Regions from separate parts of the Homo sapiens genome. Here region 1 is linked to region 2. The links are contacts of gene promoters, found by promoter capture Hi-C in blood cells and fetal thymus (Javierre and others, 2016). All regions are on one chromosome and are shown on one strand. The core of a region is centred on a gene start or on the middle of the fragment in contact, and the rest is flanking DNA. Distances in the headings are between cores, read along the strand shown.

Region 1 (3,621 bases), core at 175-2,674, 38 kb after region 2:
TTACCACTGACAGCACTACCAACGATTTGGGGATTGTGTCTCGAGGAAGCAATTGACCTAAATTTCATGTATCAATGAAACTGTTTTTCCTTATGGTTTTAATTATTTATTTATTTTATAAAATAAAATAAATAGGCTTTTAATATATAATGAAAGCCTTTTAATGTTAACATGCAAGGACTGAAAGAATACCTGTTGGACTGCAAGATGGCTGCTCCCTCTACCCTCAGCTTCAACTGGCCTGTCAGCCAAGCTTTGATTTCCTAGGCAGAATATAAAAGAATTCCTCTCTGTGGTGGTCCAGGAGACCAAGGGAATTTGGGGAGGTGATAGAACTGCACCCTGATCATGCTGGTGGTGAAAACTCGTGCAACCGTACACCCAAATGTCATCTTTTTTACTGTATGTTAATTTTAGAAATCAGAAAGTAAAAGATGCAATCACAAAAATATCATTTGGTAGGACAAACTTATTCAGTATATGAAGATAATAGAGAACTTTTATACAAAAGTGGCTCTTACAAAATATTAATATAAAATATTAAAATATAAATTCTCAAGAGCTATAACTTAAACTTCTATGTTAATTTAGGTAAGCAATTCTCCTATGAAAAGACTTAACGAATTCTTTCCTTTTCTTTTCCTCTTGTCTTTTCATTTTGCTGCAAGGAGCAGCCTTAAAGCTGACTGAAACAGTTATTGTGACCAGCATGTAATGCTTGAAAAGATGAAAATCCAGCTTTAAATATGCTCAATCTCAATAACTTTTTTGGTTTTTTTTTTTTTTTTTTTTTTTGAGACGGAGTCTTGCCTTGTCACCCAGGCTGGAGTGCAATGGCACGATCTCGGTTCACTGCAACTTTCGACTCCCAGATTCAAATGATTCTCCTGCCTCAGCCTCTTGAGTAGCTGGGATTACAGGCACCGGCCACCATGCCCAGCTATTGTTTGTATTTTTAGTAGAGATGGGGTTTCACCATGTTGGCAAGGCTGGTCTCGAACTCCTGACCTCATTATCTGCCGCCTTGGCCTCCCAAAGTACTGGGATTACAGGTGTGAGCCACCGCGCCTGGCCTCAATAACTTTTTAATAGGTATATGCTTAGTTTATTCATGTTTCTTTGCTAGTTTTTTTTCCCTGCAAAGAAGAAGAAGAAAAATAATTTTAAATCTTATTTGAAGGATGATTGTACACTGTGTTATTGGCCTTGGAAAGGAGAGAAGGAGGAAAAGGAGTAGGAAAAGGGAAAATATCTTAAGAGGTTGTACTGTTAATCTACTTCCAGGCAGATTTTAACCACTAAAGCTAAAATGCTATTATGAAATTGAATATTTCAATTGAATATTGAAAATGGTATAATGATGCCGGGTACGGTGGCTCATGCCTGTAATGGTAGCACTTTGGGAGGCCAAGGTGGGTGCATCACTTGAGGTCAGGAGTTCGAGACTAGCCTGGCCAACATGGTGAAACTCTACCTCTACTAAAAATACCAAAAAAATAGCCGGAAATTGCTTGAACCTGAGAGGCAGAGGTTGCAATGAGCTGAGATCATGCCACTGCACTTCAGCCTGGGCAAGAGAGCAAGACTCCATCTTAAATAAATAAATAAATAAATGAAAATGGTATAGTGGCTTGAAGATGCAGGGGCCCATGAGGAAGAACATGGATGGCCCCTAGAAGCTGAAAGCAGCCCCCAGGTGGCAGCCAGCAAGGAAGTGGGGTCTTCAATTCTACACGTGCAAGGAACTGAATTCTATCAACAACCTGAATGAGCTTGGAAGCTGATTCTTCCCCAGAAGCCGCAGATAAGAGCTCAGCCTGCTAGGGGCTTGAGAAAGGGGAAAGTGACTTTAAAAATGTAACTCGAGGGAGTTCCAAAAGGCTAAGCGATTCGGTGAATCTAATAAACATGTTAAAATGCATAAAGTTCGGGTGTGGGGGAAAGGGAAGGGAGAGCATTAGGACAAATAGGTTCTTTTCTGAGTTCTGGCCAGGAGGCTTCTTGATCAGTTCAAATTGTTACAAAGTTCAGCTGGAGGTTTCCTTCTCCCTGTGGCCGCTCTGGGCCTCTGGCAGCCCTCCTCAAGGAGCAATCCGTTTCCTTCAGAGGGTCTGTGGGTTCTCCTGGCTTCCCTAATGCGTTCCTGCAGTCCTTCTGAAGCAAAACTTAATGATGCGAGCCTCCACACGCTGCTCTGACCGTCCGAGTGGGAGCTGCAATCTAGTCCTGCCTCCCGTCTGTCATGATCCCTGGTGGTTTTTGACTACAGCTCAATTGTTTTAGATTCCATGTGTAAGTGAGAACATGAAGTATTTGTCTTTCTGTGTTTGACTCATTTCACCTAGCAGAATGTGTAATAAACATTAACAAAATGAATGTGTAAAATCAGGTAGTGATCACAGCTACAAAGAAAATAAAACAGAGTGATAGATGGAAAGTGATGGGGAGGAAGAACCTGGTTAGAAATGGTGGTCAGGCAGGACCTCTCTAAGAAGGGAAAAGAGCTGTGACTGCACGATAAGCCGGCCACGTGAAGACCTTGAGGACAACATGCAAAGCTGATGACCCACCGGCCCTGCAAAGACCGGGCGGGAGATAAGCTTGGCTGGCGCGAAGAAAGAAGGCTGGAGGGAGTAGAAATGGGGACAGGAGCTGAACGCTGGGAGAGGGGGCTCAAAGCCAGCTCGCGTAGGCAGGGACTGGGCACTCGCAATGCGCGCAGAACAAAGGCCTCTCTCTCTCTTTCGCCACACTAAGGGCCAACATGGTCATCTCCAGGTGCGGATTCTGCCGTAAAATGCGCCCCTGGCGACTCACGACCAGGACGCATTCCGCACCGCTCCCCCACGCCCCGCAGCCCGCCCTCGAGGCTGATTGATTTGTGCCAGTCTCTACCGCCATCTGCCGGCAGCACTCGGTACACCCGCGCCCTGGAGGTCGCACGCGCTGGCCAAACGGGCGCACCAGACACTTTTCAGGGCCCTGCCAAAGACCTCCCAATGTCTACTGGCGTCCCAGACACAAGAGATCCAGGCCAAGACTCACACTTCACAAGATACACAGACACGGGCCTTAGGGAACAGGAAATTCCATGAAACTTCCATTTACCCAATTAGCCGGACTCACTGAGCCCCAGAATAGGGTTTTCAACCAACTCCTACTAAAATTAAAAAGTAATGTGTGGTATAGATTGGAATAATAGACATTGGAGGCTACAAACGATGGGAGGCGGAGAGGGGTGAGGGTTGAAAAATTACCTATTGGGTGCAACATTCACTATCCGGGTAATGGGGCACTAGAAGCCCACTCCACCACTATGCAATATATGTATTTGTACCCCGTAAATCTATAAAAATAAAAACTACATTAAAAATAATAATAATGTCTGGTCATCTAAATAGTACCTCTACAGCTTATTAAGTGCTCTGGAGACGTCCCAGTTGCCTGTCCTTCCCATTAAAGGTGATATCCAGTGCTGATTTCCCCTTCAACCTCGGGTTCCCATAAACCTCTTCTTTCTCACTCCTGCTGCCCTCCGGTACTCCAATAAAGAATGATAGATGGGCCGGGAGCAGTGGCTCACGCCTGTAATCCCAGCACTTTGGGAGGCCAAGGCGGATG
Region 2 (3,544 bases), core at 839-3,338:
ATGCAACATACTTAATTTTTCATAACTTTCCAATTCTTATTAACTCAACTTTTTGTTCCATAATAACTGTGCTTCTCTTTGTACCAGTACTTTCCATATTCTTATTGCTTTGGGACTAGCAAGACACAATGAGGTGAATAATGTTATTTCAATGCATCTTAAAACACCAGAAACCAATTAATATGCGATATTCAGGATTAACTGATTCCAAAGGGCTGTTAATTCCATCTCTTGATATTGACAAGTAGTAAGTAAATATGCCTAAGCTTGATTATTTTTGTTCATAGAAGTAAAATATACATTTCATAAAGTGAAAGTTCATAAGATTTGCTTTTATTGTTTTAAAAAATAACAGTTAATTTAAACAAAACTGAGGAGTCATTGGATACTATAGTAGCTAATGAAATCCTAAGAAGACATGAATTTCAGGAAGGCGAGGAACCAGGGAAACTCTTGAAACTTGAACAATTAATAATATTCAGAGCCAATGAGCTTCAATATCTGAGTTTCTTAGGAAATGTCCCAAATTAGCAGGGGAAAGCATCTGATTGGTAGGCTTGGTTCTATTGTTACACCTGGATCAATCAGCTACGACCAAGGAATCTGAGCAGTACACTATAAAAATTGCTGCTTTTAATTATTTCAACCATTGTGGAAGATAGTGTGGCAATCCCTCAAAAACCTAAAGTCAGAAATACCATTTGACCTAGCAATCCTATTACTGGGTATATGCCCAAAGGAATATAAATGGTTCTATTATAAAGACACATGCATGCATATGTTCACTGCAGCGCTATTCACAATAACAAAGACATAGAATCAACCCAAATGCCCATCATTTGGCCATTTGGATAAAGAATGGATAAAGAAAATGTGGTACATATATACCACGGAATACTATGCAGCCATAAAAAAGAATGAGATCGTGTCCTTTGCAGGGACATGGATGGAGCTGGAGGCCATTATCCTTAGCAAATGAAGGCAGAAACAGAAAACCAAATACTGCATGTTCTCACTTATAGGTGGGAGCAAAATGATGAGAACACATGGACACACAGAGGGGAACAACACACACTGGAGCTTACTGGAGAGTGGAAGGTGGGAGGAGGGAGAGGATGAGGAAAAATAACTAATGGACACTAGGCTTAATAGCTGGGTGATGAAATAATCTATACAACCAACCCCCATGACACACATTACCTATGTAACAAACCAGCACATCCTGCACATATACCCGCGAAGTTAAAAAAGTTTTTTTTTAGTTGCTACTTTAAAAGGATGTGGGAATCATTGTAAACTCAAAAGTTAAAGATGTGCCAAGAGCTGTCTCCCACGAACTTGTTTAACAAACGTACTGACTTTGTATGTTGATCCAATACCCATGCTGGCCACTGGACATACCAGTACAAACAAGGCAGAATCTTCACTCTCCTCTAGCTCTTCTAATTCTCATGCACTAAGTGCCAACCTTAGCATAACTGGGCTGACAATCAGTGAATCAAATATCTAACTCTTATCCTACTCCAACGTTAAGAAAGAGACATGCGACTGGGTGCGGTGGCTCATGCCTGGAACCCCAGCACTTTGGGAGGCCAAGGTGGGCGGATCACTTGAGGTCAGGAGTTTGAGACCAGCCTGGCCAACATGGTGAAACCCCGTCTCTACTGAAAATACAAAAGTTAGCTGGGCATGGTGGTGCATGCCTGTAGTCCCAGATACTCTACTTGGGAGGCTGAGGCAGGAGGATTGCCTGAACCTGGGAGGCGGAGGTTGCAGTGAGTCGAGATCACGCCACTGCACTCCAGCCTGGGCAACAGAGTGAGACTCCATCTCAAAAAAGCAAAAGAGAGACACATGCAAAGGGCTTGCTCTTTCTTTCTCATCTTACCTATCTTATGTTTTCCTCCAGGATCAAGAGCAAGGAATTTGTTGCATAGAGGTGTTCAAGAAAGGGTGTTTTCAAACAGAGTCAGAAAAAACACAACTATACTGCGAGCAGCATACAAACCTGCTTTGGCTGCACTTCACTGCTCATGGCATAAGGCCACGAAGAGGCCAATAAAGGCTGGAGCTCAGGAGCATCAACCCAGATTCAAGGCTTCCTCTCTGGCACCCAACCATGAAGCTCCTTTTTCCTATCTTTGCCAGCCTCATGCTACAGTACCAGGTGAACACAGGTAATGTGGATTCCCAAGTTTAAGATGGGTAGATGAGAGGAACCAAGGATTTGGCTGCCCATGACAATGGAAACCCAAAGAGAGGAGACTGAAAGATTAGCTGTTCAAAAAGATGGCTAAAGAGCTTACCTATTGTATCAGTCATGCACTGATACATTCTCATAGGCCCCAACTGCCAGATTGTGTCCAGTGGAAACACCCAGGAAGCTACAGAGAAAGCAGGGTATTTTTTGTCTATTCAGAAACTATCCAAAATATAATGCTGCCTTCCTGCCCTGTATATGTCTATCATGCTAAGACTAAGCCCAGGTCTACCTCCTTTTAGCTCTATTTCTATCTTAAAAGCCCTTTTTTTTTAAAAAAAGTCCTGGGGTACTTGTGCAGGATGTGCGGTTTGTTACATAGGTAAATGTGTGTCATGGTTATTTGCTGCACCTACCAACCCATCGCCCAGGTATTAAGCCCAGGATGCATTAGCTATTTTTCCTGATGCTCTCCCTCCACCCAACAGGCCCCAGTGTGTGTTGTTCCCCTTCCTGTGAAACCACCTCTTGAAGCAAAGTTTCCTATCAGTTTGTGCTTGGTGTAGAAAGGAGGAAGTTCTTCCCTCATGCTCAAAAAAAAACCCTTTCAAGATCAAGTAAACAGGCCTGTGTTCTCCATCTTGAATTCTTTCAGGTTTTCCAGAGCCTTTATCGCTTCTCTCAGACTTTGTCTTCCTGAAAACCCCCAAACTACCATAAGGGCATCTAGGAATGCATTATAGCAAAAGGCTAAGCCAGGGGATTAACCATTGTTTTTGGAAAAGAAAGGAGAAGCACTGAGATTTGTTTCAGAATACAAGAATCATCCAGCTATTTGAAAAAATTAGCAAAGGGTTTCGGGGCAGGGAAAGTGGAAGTGTCAAAGATGCTTCTAATGTTTTTATCTTCTAATGTTTTTATCTTGGGACCCTAGGAAAAGGGTAGTACCATAAGCAAGTATGGCTGTGTCATCTTGGGTAAAGTCACTTAACCACTTTGAACTTCAATTTCACATGAGTATAATGGGGTTAATCAATGCAGCTGATTCCAATATAAGAATTTTTCTGTTTCCCGTTTGATGAGAAAACAATGTGGAAATGTATGCAAATATGCTTTGAAAATTAGCAGATGCTACATAAATCTCTTGTAATTTAGGGAAAATCATTGGGTTATTAAGATGAACAAGGGAGAAAAGCTTTCTTGATTCAGAAAAAAGAAACACGAGACATTAGGATGGAAAAGTCATTCAGCAGATAAAGATAAGGTACTAAGCCGAGCAGGAAATTTAGAATTATAGATAACAATACAGAAGTTACCTTGGTGGATATGAGGTTAAGGCTAGGA

Evidence for each region. The method cuts DNA at HindIII sites, captures the fragments that hold promoters and counts their contacts. A CHiCAGO score of 5 or more calls a contact.
Region 1: a contact is called between a fragment that was not itself captured here and the fragment with the promoter of DEFB129 in region 2, in 1 of 17 cell types (M2 macrophages). The highest score is 5.1, in M2 macrophages.

Annotation. Positions count from the first base shown.
Region 1 is chr20:264,250-267,870 of GRCh38, forward strand. No RefSeq gene overlaps it. Among named protein-coding and RNA genes, the nearest start is that of DEFB132, 8.3 kb to the left of the region's middle. The HindIII fragment of the contact is 2,347 bases long and covers 252-2,598 here.
Region 2 is chr20:225,170-228,713 of GRCh38, forward strand. DEFB129 (defensin beta 129) reads left to right here and starts at 2,089. Exons shown (of 2, transcript NM_080831.4): 1 at 2,089-2,177. The coding sequence starts at 2,120. The HindIII fragment of the contact is 3,129 bases long and covers 265-3,393 here.